2 separate regions of the Homo sapiens genome follow, and region 2 is linked to region 1. Evidence: promoter capture Hi-C in 16 types of primary human blood cells and fetal thymus (Javierre and others, 2016). All regions are on one chromosome and are shown on one strand. The core of a region is centred on a gene start or on the middle of the fragment in contact, and the rest is flanking DNA. Distances in the headings are between cores, read along the strand shown.

Region 1 (5,669 bases), core at 1,223-3,722:
ATTTGGATATCAGTCTATCATTAGAGAATTAAGAGACTGGTATAGAGAGAAAAAAATAGATTTAGGAATACATACCTTCACGCAGTACATGGAAGAAACACCTAACTGTTGTGACATCAAATATGTTAAAGCGCTTTCATTAACTTAATTTTAGGAATATCAAAATGCAACGTGTAAATCCGGTTAATAATTAGAGGGGATGCCAGCATGCACACAGCTCCTCCAAGATAGCCAGTTAAGATGATGTGTGAGTAATAGAAAAATCATTTCTATTTTTGGAATGGTTTATATAATTTTTCAACAGAAAATTACAGGATTAGAAGGAACCTAAAAGGATGATATGGTCCAGTACCCTGACGTCAATAAATGAGTGGCTATTTTTCCTGATTTGCTCTTTTCATAAAATTGTTGCAGAAATGAAAACTGCTTGCCTTCTCTTTTTGCCATTCCATTATTTTAACCATCTGTGGGTCAAGGAGTTATTCTTAATTATTACTACGTTTAGTTTCTTTGTTGAAATAGAGAAGAGTTATAGTTAGTATCTTTTAAATTAAACATTTTTTGAGTACTAGCTCTTACTCTAGTTTCTTGGTACCATATCTTTCAGCTTTCTCTCAAAAGGTATTTTCATTCTTATCAATGCTTTTCCTATCATTCTGGATACTTCGTTAAGTTTATCTTCATTTCTCTAAGAAGTGTAAGGTGTAGTGGAAGTATTAATTTAGTATACTTGTGGTTTCTATTTGCCTGTTTTCCCTTTGAGAGCAGTACACTCCTTTTATTTCTGAATACTCTGCATCAGAGCCCCTTGTCTGGCATGTAGAATATGTTCAATAAATGTTTATTGAATGCATAAATGTATGTTCTCATTCTCTTTACACATCTTGATAGCATGCTAATGTTCATTTTTTATCAGGTAAAGCAAGAAGGGGAGGAAGTTGAACCTTAAATTTGTTTAGTGACTTTATCATGGTCACAGAACCACTACTTTTTTGGTATAGGGAGCCAAGGATCCAAATGGAGACTGCTACTATTTTGCGCAGCATTTCCCCACCTTGTATCTCATGGCCAAACTTTTCAACGCCCCAGATGCAATTTCAGCAGTTAAACGCATGATTTTTCCCCATGAATGTGTGTTCGTGTGTGTGTGTATTTTTAAGTATCCCTTCCCTCACTTTTTGGCACTGGTGCTGCTTTCTGCCTCCAATCTCTCCTCTCTCTGTTTCAGCCTCCACACTACAGCCAGAATCTGCTCTCTAAAATGCAATTGTGATCATGTTACTTCCCTATTTAAAAACCCTTCAATGGTTCACTAATGTCTTGCAGATTAAATTCAAACTCCTTGGTGTGCTAAACAAAGCACTCAAATATCTGGCCCCTTCTACGCGCTTATCGCTCATCATACCCTCTCTTGCATTCACTTAGCTGGTGGTATCAAACTTCTCAACAGTTCCCTACACAAGAGCCTGTTTATTGATCCTTCAGCCTGGAATTACTTCCCTTACCCGACTCAAGACTCTAGCGCCACCTTTGCTATGAAGTCTCTCTTGACCATACTCACAGATAGAACTGATTGTTCCTTTGTGTGTATGCCCACACCCTTACAGGCCTGGATCTTAAGTCTGTTATCACTGCGTTGCGCTTATTTACAAGTATCCGCTGTCCCACCCACGCTCCACTTAGGCCTCTTTATACCCCTAGGTACTCACACAGAGCTTGGCACAAGTGATGCTTTATAAATGGTCAATGAATGAACGTAGTGGAAACACAGAAGAAGAGGGAGAAGAACTGGGGAAGAAAGAAGCTCTGTGGAGAGAATACTAATTGTTTTGCACATGAAAATAATGAGTTGTGAGGGAGGTCAAAAAGGTCAAAGGGAAGAGCCCTGCCTTACAGGAACTCACTGTCTGCTGGGAGGCAAGAGGTAAGGTCCGCATACCAAACACACGAAGCAATGAGCTTATCGGGGTGAAAATGGCTCGTGCACATTATAGTATCACAGAAACTTAGAGGCTGGGGGAGGATGGAGAGGAAACTGGCCTAGTCAAGTGTCTTCTAAGTGTTAGGCGGTTTTCGAGCGTTAAACAGTTTAATCTTTACAACCACCCCATGATGAGGATAGTAGCTCCATTTTAGGGACGAAGAAACATGCTCAGAGAATTTAGGTTGCCCAATGTCACAAACTACCATGTGGAAGGACCATAATTAGAATTTAGGTCAACTGCCTCCAGAGCCCTGAGGCTTTCGCTCCCCCTCTCTCGGCGGTCGAGACCCACAGGGCTCCCATTCACCTGCGCGTCGGCCTGCGCTAGCTATAGCCCTCAGGCGCGCCGCGTTCCGCGCACTCACACCACCCTCTGCGCGCCAGCCCTGCGTCCCTCCCACGCGAACTGCGCCGGCGCGTCCAGCCCTCCCGCCCGGGGGAGGGGCGGGGTTGCGTCGCTGCCGCTGACCCTTGAGCGCGCGGCGGCAGAGGCGGTGTCCAGGCTTCCGGGCGGGTAGTCCTTCGGCTCCGGAGCCGCGACTGCGCTCGCCTAGGTGGTGGGCGGGGAGGGAAGGAAGGGAGCGGGCGCAAGGCGGCGGCGGCGGCTGCGGGTGAGGAACTTGTTGCGCCCGCGGCTGCGCGGTGCCCCTCCCTCCGCTCCAGTTCGTCGGGGCGGGCGCGGCGGCGGCGGCGAAGGAGGAGCGCGGCCGGGGCGATGCGGCGCTACCTGCGCGTCGTGGTGCTGTGTGTGGCCTGCGGCTTCTGCTCGCTCCTTTACGCTTTCAGCCAGCTCGCCGTGTCCCTGGAAGAAGGAACGGGCGGCGGTGGCGGGAAGCCGCAGGCCGCGGTGGCTTCCTGGCTCGCGGGCGGCGGACGCGGCGCCGTGAGAGGCGCCGGCGTCGCGGGCCCCGCAGCGCATCCCGGCGTGTCGGACAGGTACGGGCAGTTCCCGGTGTGGGGGACGCGGCGGGCGCGGGGCGCTGGGCGCGGGCTCGGCCTAGCCCGGGCTGCTCGCCGGTGGGTGCCGCGTCTCCCGCGTCTTTCCTCCTGTCTCTGACCCCTCACTCATTTCCCTCCTTCCCCTCCGGCCGGGGCTAAACCTGCGCTGCTCCCGCCTGAGAGTGTCCTACACTTTCTGTGTTTATCTTTTGACCCAGTCATGCGCCCTTTAAAGCAGTTAGAAATTAATTTTCAACTTTTTAAAAAGAGGGTTCTTTGAAAATAAGAGGTGTCCACAAAAGCCTTACTGCTGCCTGGCTAGTGAGAATTTCCTCTTGTTTCAGTGGAGTTCAAGTTGAGATATTTAAACATGAGGCTGGCGCCCTAGTTCAGTGTTTAAGGATTGTGTGTGTGTGTGTGAGTGTATATGTGTGTGTATTTTGTCCCTCATGCTGATTTTCCTGTGTTAACGCTTACACTTCTAAGTATTAGCCATGGTTAGTTAAATTTGGAAATGGCATTTGTGCGGGTTGTGAAATTTTCTTTTGGAAACACTCAGTTTATTAAGAAACTTAGAGCAAATTAAGAAAAATGAGCGATACTTGGCGTGCTCAAGTCTGTTGTTGGATGGGATGGAGTTACCTTTCTTGACAAATTGGTATTTAAAAAGCGACGTAATGACTTAGGACGTAATCACTGCCAGAGTGGGAATCAACATGAGATTTAAATAGAAAAAAAATGTTTCTGTCAACGCATTATGAATGCTTGAAATCTGAGCGTTTGCACTGCCTTGCAACATGGACACTTCCACCTTATGTATGGGCATCTCTCTGGGAATGACCTGAAGTGCTCCCTACCAAGACTTGGCAAATGCTGCTTTGATATAGAGAAGTATAGGGTTTGTCGGAAGAGGGAGTATAGATCAGTTGTGGGCTGTTGTTTAACATCATTTTGAGAGTCGATGGTCATTCCCAGAATGAAAGGGGAAAGTTTGGGCAGAGGAGCAGCGTGGAAAGCGGACTTGTCATGTTTTTACCCTGAGATTTGATTACAGTCAGGGTAATTCCTACATCAGGACCCTCAGTTGTCTGTCCTGGGAGAAAGCAGTCACTGAAGACTTGAATGAGCTCGTGAAAAATGACAGGTTGAAGCTAAACTGTTTATGGCCTAGTATGTTATTGTGAAGCATTTGCAATTATGGAAAAGGAATTATTTTTATATGGGGTAGAATTGTAAGGAAGCAACATTTTAATTAAATATTGAATGAAATTAGACTGATGTTAACATCACATTTTTAGTGCCTTGGTCTTAGATATTTTATTTTGTGACAGAAATTTACAAATTTTGTTTGCTTGACCAGCTAATTTTAATAAAATTATTTGAAATTTTCGAAAATAGCCTCAGTTTTAATAAACATCCAATATAATCATTACTGAAACGTTAAGTTTTATGTGTCAGGATTGAGTCAACCGAAATACTGTACTTTTTTAGGTCCTTTGAGTAGCATTACTCTTTATTTTAAATGAGGCGTACATCTAAGTTAGAACTATAGGTGTATTTATCTCTCTTTGTAAAAATGTGATGAAGAACAGCATGTCACCACATTTGCGCGCATAAGAAACCATTTGGGCAGGGGAACAACGTGGAAAAGTTGGATTGTGAAGTTTTACTCTATGGTTAGATTAAGATCACGCAAATTACTAAGACCTCAGGACTCTATTTTGTATATCGTCATTTATAACATCTTTATAGAAATGTCATAGAATTAAATCAACTTTTGGCAACGCTCGGTAGCTCACGCCTGTAATCCCAGAATTTGGGGAGGCTGAGTGGGGATGATTGATTGCTGGAGGCCAGGAGTTTGACACCAGCCTCGTCAACAACCCATCTTTACAAAAAATAAAAAAATTAAAAAAAAATTAACTGAATGTGGTGTTTCACACCTGTAATCCCAGCACTTTGGGAGGCTAAGGTGGGAGGATCACTTGAGCCCAGGAGTTCAAGGCTACAGTGAGCTATGATTGCACCAGTGTAATCCAACCTGGGTGACAGAGCAAGATCCTGTCTCAAAAAAAAAAAAAAAAATTAACTTTTTTGGCCACCATGAGATACGGTATAGAAATCCCTAACCTCTTCATGTATAAATCATTTGGCCAAGATCCAAAGCAAATCAGTGTTGGAGGAGGATTAGAAACTGTATCCTTGGAGTGTTATACAAGAGCTCTTTCTGTAAAGAAAGATAAGGGTCTAGTTTAGATAGTGGACTCAGTGGGCAATGGGGCTATGGGGCAAGCCAGCAGCTTCCTCTTTTCAGTAGTACTTAGGTATTATTGCATTTTTGCCTTTTTTGATAACATCTTACTTGAAAGATTATAACTATTTCTCTCTTTTTATTTTAAACACGGGATCTAGGTTTGTACCCAGTAAGTTCCATTGGTCAGATCTTATAAAAACTATTCATGGTATAGAATTTCATGACGACAAAAGACTTGGAGTCCTTGAAGTAAGAACTTTAAAATGAAAGGAACAGTTTTTCAGTGGAATCTCTTATCCGTTAGTGTATTCTGTTTGAAGCCATGATTTTAATAATCAGAAAATACATGGGTCTTGTAGTCAGATAAACCCGTGTTCTCAGTATTCTGGCTCTGGTTGCTGTGAGACTTTGCCTAAATTGTGTCACATGCCTGTGTTTTAATTTCCTCACCTGTAAAATGTAGATAATACTTAAATTTTTTTAGCTTTAGTA
Region 2 (5,669 bases), core at 1,210-3,709, 880 kb after region 1:
TTAAGGTGTGGGATTATATATGATAAATATTTTATTGTATAGTTTATACTAGTAACTTGCTTTTAAATTTAATATAAGCACAAAAATTCATGTGATTGCTAATTCTTATTTTCTACCAACATTTTGCTTTTAACTTATTGATAGACTCTATTTTCATTTTCTTTAGAGACTGAATTTTGCTCTGTTGCCCAGGCTGGAGTGCAGTGGTGGGATCTCGGCTCACTGCAACCTCCGCCTCCCAGGTTCAAATGATTTTCCTGCCTCAGCCTCCTGAGTAGCTGGGATTACAGGCAAATGCCACCATGCTCAGCTAATTTTTGTATTTTTAGTGGAGACAGGGTTTCACCATGTTGGTCAGGCTGTTCCTGAACTGCTGACCTCAAGTGATCCTCCCGCCTTGGCCACCCAAAGTGCTGGGATTACAGGCATGCAACACCATGCTGGCTAATTTTTGTATTTTTAGTAGAGGCGGGGTTTCACCATATTGGCCAGGCTGGTCTTGAACTCCTGACCTCAAGCAATCCGCCCACCTCGGCCACCCAAAGTGCTGGGATTACAGGCATGAGCAACCGCGCCCAACTATTTTCATTTTCTTTAAGTGAATACAAGATACATTTTGATAAAAAGGCTTTATCAGTACATTCCCCCACCACCACCAAAAAAAGGTATCAGCATGACTAATTCATTTTATATGTCTCATTGATACATGTACGTGTGTGTACACACACACACACATTATTTTTGCTTTGAGACTTCACTAAAGGAATCAGTAATAATTTCGAGGAATCACTGAAGTTACCTTAAGCATGAGGTAATCTATACCATGTAAATTTTATTAAATAGTATATACTATGTGGTTTAGTTAGTGAGATATATTTTATATATATATACATATATACAGTATTTTTTATCCCTACTTAAAAAATCAGGCTAAAAATGGTAACTTAATTGACTGACCTATTAATCTTTAAGATTTGTCTTCAATTGAATTCTAGAAACGCCGACATCTTATCTTGCTCTAGTGATCTACATTTACCTTCTAATAATTTTACATAGAATCCATCTAAAATGATATTTCACTATTAAAATTATCTAGCATATCTAAACAAACAGTATTCAGCTCATGACTAGTTTCCCCTTGAGTTTTCTCTGTCAGTGATCACTTCTATAGTTTTACTTAATGGTGTTTATTAACCAATAGCAATTTCACCCTTTCAAAATCCAATCTTCCTTCAAATATCATCACAAATTCTATGTCTTCAATGGAAGTTGTATCTTTGTATCTTTTAGTCTGTACCTCTACAACCATACTGATGCTATTGCATAAGAAATTATTATAAGAATTACACATTACAAAATAACTGAATTTTTTTCCAGCTCCCTCACTTACTTGAAAGTTTCTAAAAATCACAAACCTTGACTTACTCATTTTTGCATACTCAGGCCACGGGCATTCCATTTTATGAAGACACTCAACAGAAGCTTCTTAAACAGAACCAAATGTATGATAACACATCAGACAAGGGCCAGCAAGTGAACGTTGTGGACACATAGGTGACTGCTTATCTCAGTGCATGGCCGTAGACAGATTGTGGTCATGGTCTTTCAGCAGGCAAAACTATAATGAATGTTACAGCACTGTATCATCAATCAGCACCACTGGGAAATGGAAAAAGAGTTCCAGAAGTCCTCGTTTTGGAGAAGACGCTAATTTAGGGAACTGGACCAGTCATCTGGGAGGCATGAAGGAGTACAAATGGAATCACGGGGGAGGCAATGGAAGGATGAAGATTGGAAGAGAAATTGCAATCACCGGACAAATGTCCAGAGTTTAATGGGGAGCCAGTGAGCCCATCTTCAGGACTTCAGGCTGCCCATTCTGTACCCTTCCCATTCTTGCCCACCACCACAGATACTATTCTCCCCATCCCATGTTCTCTGGCATGGATCTGCCAGCATAAGAATGCGTTCCTCTTTCTTACATTACACTTCATTGTAAATTGCTGGATTTGGTAGAACTGAAGAGATTTCAAAACAATAAAAAGAGAAATAGAACTATTTGAGGCCGGGCACGGTGGCTCACGCCTGTAATCCTAGCATTTTGGGAGGCCGAGGAGGGGGGATCACGAGGTCAGGAGATCGAGACCATCCTGGCTAACACGGTGAAACCCTGTCTCTACTAAAAATACAAAATATTAGCTGGGCGAGGTGGTGCACGCCTGTAGTCCCAGCTACTCGAGAGGCTGAGGCAGGAGAATGGCGTGAACCCGGGAGGCAGAGCTTGCAGTGAGCCGAGATCGCGCCACGGCACTCCAGCCTGGGCGATAGAGCGAGACTCCATCTCAAAAAATAAGAAAACAAACAAACAGAGAAATAGAACTACTTTGCCTTTGTGAAAGAATGAAATCTAATTTCTTTAATTGCTAAATCTTGATTAAGCCTTCAACTTCTGATGAAGCAGAACTCATCTATCACAAGTTATTAGATTTCTAACAAATAATCCACATGGAATGGGGCTTACACATTTTCCCTTAGGTATATTTTAAAGAAATTTGTAACTGCCTCCTACTAAATACTACAGTTTACATTCTTCACAAATATTCTGAATACGTTTTTCGAAATGCAACGAAAGGTAGTTTTTTTTTTCTAATAAAAATTGATACAAATTAGGATGAGAAACTCTAGGGAATTCCTGAACCCCTAGAAAATTTGCATATCCCTAATAAACCAAGAGGACAGAGAATCCTATGTCTTTTAAAACTGGGATGTGCTATGGAATTTATGAGGCAACATAATAAATATAGTGCATCTTTCTGCATCACCAATTTAACTCAATTAATAGAAACATGTTTTTTTCTAATTAAAAGGGAGAGATAAATCATGGAATTTGATTTCCATAAAACACAAGATTTAAAACTATCTTGACTACGGGGGGTGATATTGTAGAAAATCAGCAGAACCACGGGGTTAGAAGCTCGTTATTTTCTGTCAGGGATATTTCAAGTATGAGAAATGTTAATGTTTCTCTGTGGATGAAACTAAGGAAGTGCAGACTATAGAAAATCCAAATTATGACTTCAATTGTACACAAGTTTATATAAGATTCTTATTACTGACTTTAAAATATATAATAGCATCACCTTATCTAGACTCATAGTGGGCACAACAGACCATCAGTTAAGTATTTTGATGGAACTAATAAAACATTAACTTTTCTTTCTTATTTGCTGAAAATGTAGCAAATAATATTTTTAATATTAAGAAATGTGTCTTTACTAATACTTAAATAAGGCAACCTTAGTTTCATAATGCTGTTATGTAAAAAATATAATTTTATATTAACTCATGTATAATTGGGGTCATAACTTACATATGCTACATTCTGAATTTCTTTAAGCCCTTAGTTTATTTTAGTTTCGAAATAAAATAAAGCTTCACAATTCCACTCAATTGTACTGCTTGTTTAATCAGAGACCACCCACAAAAGATGGCACTTCTCATACCCTTTGTTTAGTGGACACTCCCCACTCCACACATCTCTGCTGTTATGTTAGGGAAACTATACAAAAATGCTGCTAGAAAATAGGATGAATGAAGTATTGTTGTTCCTATCCTAATACGTAAGTCAAAAAATAAAAAGTAAAACACATGAAAAGGAAATCTTTCTAAAAATATGATCCAAAGAATTGGCCAAAAGAAAGAACAATCTGAAAGATCTTACTTTTGAAATGTGAATTTAATTGCTTTCAGTATTTTTGATAGAAAATGCATTAGATTATTTTCATTAACCTAATACAAAACAATTCCAAAGATTGCTTCCAGATACTCCAAACAAATAAGTTTGCCAACAGTATTCTAAAATAAAGTAGAAAATGTCCTAGTATGATTCTAAGCTGTTCCTTCAAGGTCAGCATTCTCTCTTATCAGAAATATAGATGAAAAAGACATCTGTAACTGACACTTCGATTTCTATAGATTTGCTTGCAAAATAAATAGAATTTATAATCCTAGTAAGTGAAATAGTTACCAATGAAGATATCTAAAAGAGAGGGCTAAAACTAAGCTGATTAGCTTAAAAGTAGCCCTCTAGACTAAACTCATTTGTGAACTAATTACATGATGCAAAGTAATCAGTCCGGCCAATATACTCATATTTTTTTAAGATTTTATTTTTATTTTAAATGCTTAACATAGTTTTCAGACTTGTTTCTCTTGTGTCTTGAAGTCTTTGTCCACAGATGTGGTTATAGTCTGCAACAAAGGTCATCTGAGAGCCTAAGCAGGTACTGACTTAATTCTACCATAAGGAGCAGATCCAACCCTCAGTCTAATTTCATCCAACACAAATAAACACTTTCAAGTACCAGTGTTTCTTGACATGCTAGTTTTGTTAAAATGCAGTATTACAATATTCAGTGACTGTTTTTAAAAGGCTATAACATGGTGATATTGTGTGAGCAAATACGTAAGCATGTCCCTCACTCTGCATCTTTTTCTTAATATGAACGGTTTCTTTCTATGTATTTGTATTTTCATGTCTATTTTTATGAGTGTCTCTCTGACTCTTCTTTATTTTCTCCTGTCTTTCCCTTTCCACTCTGTCTTTTCTCCTCAATAGGCTAAATATGAAAATATTTAATGTTATTGTTACTATAAAATTATGCATCATAGGACCAGTTGAAAATGCTTATAATATACACATGAAAATAAAAATCAGCCAACGATAGCCATTATTATCCATTATACTTTTGGTAAGTTTGCTTCCCGTGTCTTTTATGTGTGTATTTAAATGCAGGTTAATTTCTAAATGCATGCAATTGTTTTCAAAATTGATGCTTCAACCTATGATAAAGGAGAGTGTTAATGAATTGTAGTGCCCCCCCGCCATGTACTACTTACTAGTGTCTTTACCAACATAAAAGCCAAAAAATGAGCTAAAGTCTGTATTTACCATCTCCATCATCATCATCACTACTCATAACATTAATCAGACAGCACCTCCATCATTCCCTTTTTCCCTTATCTTGCTTTATCCTTTGGGTATGTGTTACCACCTGACATATCTCTTAGCTTATTTATTTATTGATCATCTCTCCTAATAGAATATAAACCCCATAAGAGCAAGGAATTTGGTGTTTGTTCATCACTACATCCCTAGCACTAGAATAGTGTACAAGCAAATAGTATGCACTCAATAAATATTTGTGGAATACATAAATTATATGTAGTTTCACGTTTTTGGTACTTAATTTTAAGAGAGTAGTCTTTGTATTTTCATCATGTATTTTATGGTTTAAAATGATATTTATGACAGAATAGTTGCTTTTTACCCCCTTTTCTTTTAATAGGGGACAGAAAAGATTTCTTAAAGCTAATCTATACAAACATGACTTCTATCACCAATGACTCTTACTCCAGATTATGTGTAAAATAAAGCATTTTATTTCTAGTATTTGTCTTTGTCTCACTCTTTCTACCTCCTCTCTCTCTCGTTCTCTCCTTTCCTCCCTCCTTCTATTTACCAAAATAAAAACATTGAGGCTATAGGTTTTATTCGTTCAAATGGCTAAAAATTAAACAAGATATAAATATTTTCCTTTGGATACTAGAAGAAAAAATAGAAACATAAAATTTACAATTTACAACACAATACAAAACAATTGGGCTTA

What was found. The method cuts DNA at HindIII sites, captures the fragments that hold promoters and counts their contacts. A CHiCAGO score of 5 or more calls a contact.
Region 2: a fragment that was not itself captured here is called in contact with the fragment with the promoter of GXYLT1 in region 1 in 1 of 17 cell types (megakaryocytes); the score reaches 6.4 in megakaryocytes.

What each region holds. Positions count from the first base shown.
Region 1 is chr12:42,141,677-42,147,345 of GRCh38, reverse strand. GXYLT1 (glucoside xylosyltransferase 1) reads left to right here and starts at 2,472. Exons shown (of 8, transcript NM_173601.2): 1 at 2,472-2,920. The coding sequence starts at 2,700. RefSeq lists an enhancer at 2,045-2,114 and silencers at 2,275-2,774, 2,855-3,084. The HindIII fragment of the contact is 13,899 bases long and covers 1-5,669 here.
Region 2 is chr12:41,258,183-41,263,851 of GRCh38, reverse strand. The region is part of intron 3 of PDZRN4 (PDZ domain containing ring finger 4); the gene reads right to left. Among named protein-coding and RNA genes, the nearest start is that of PDZRN4, 73 kb to the right of the region's middle. The HindIII fragment of the contact is 1,950 bases long and covers 1,485-3,434 here.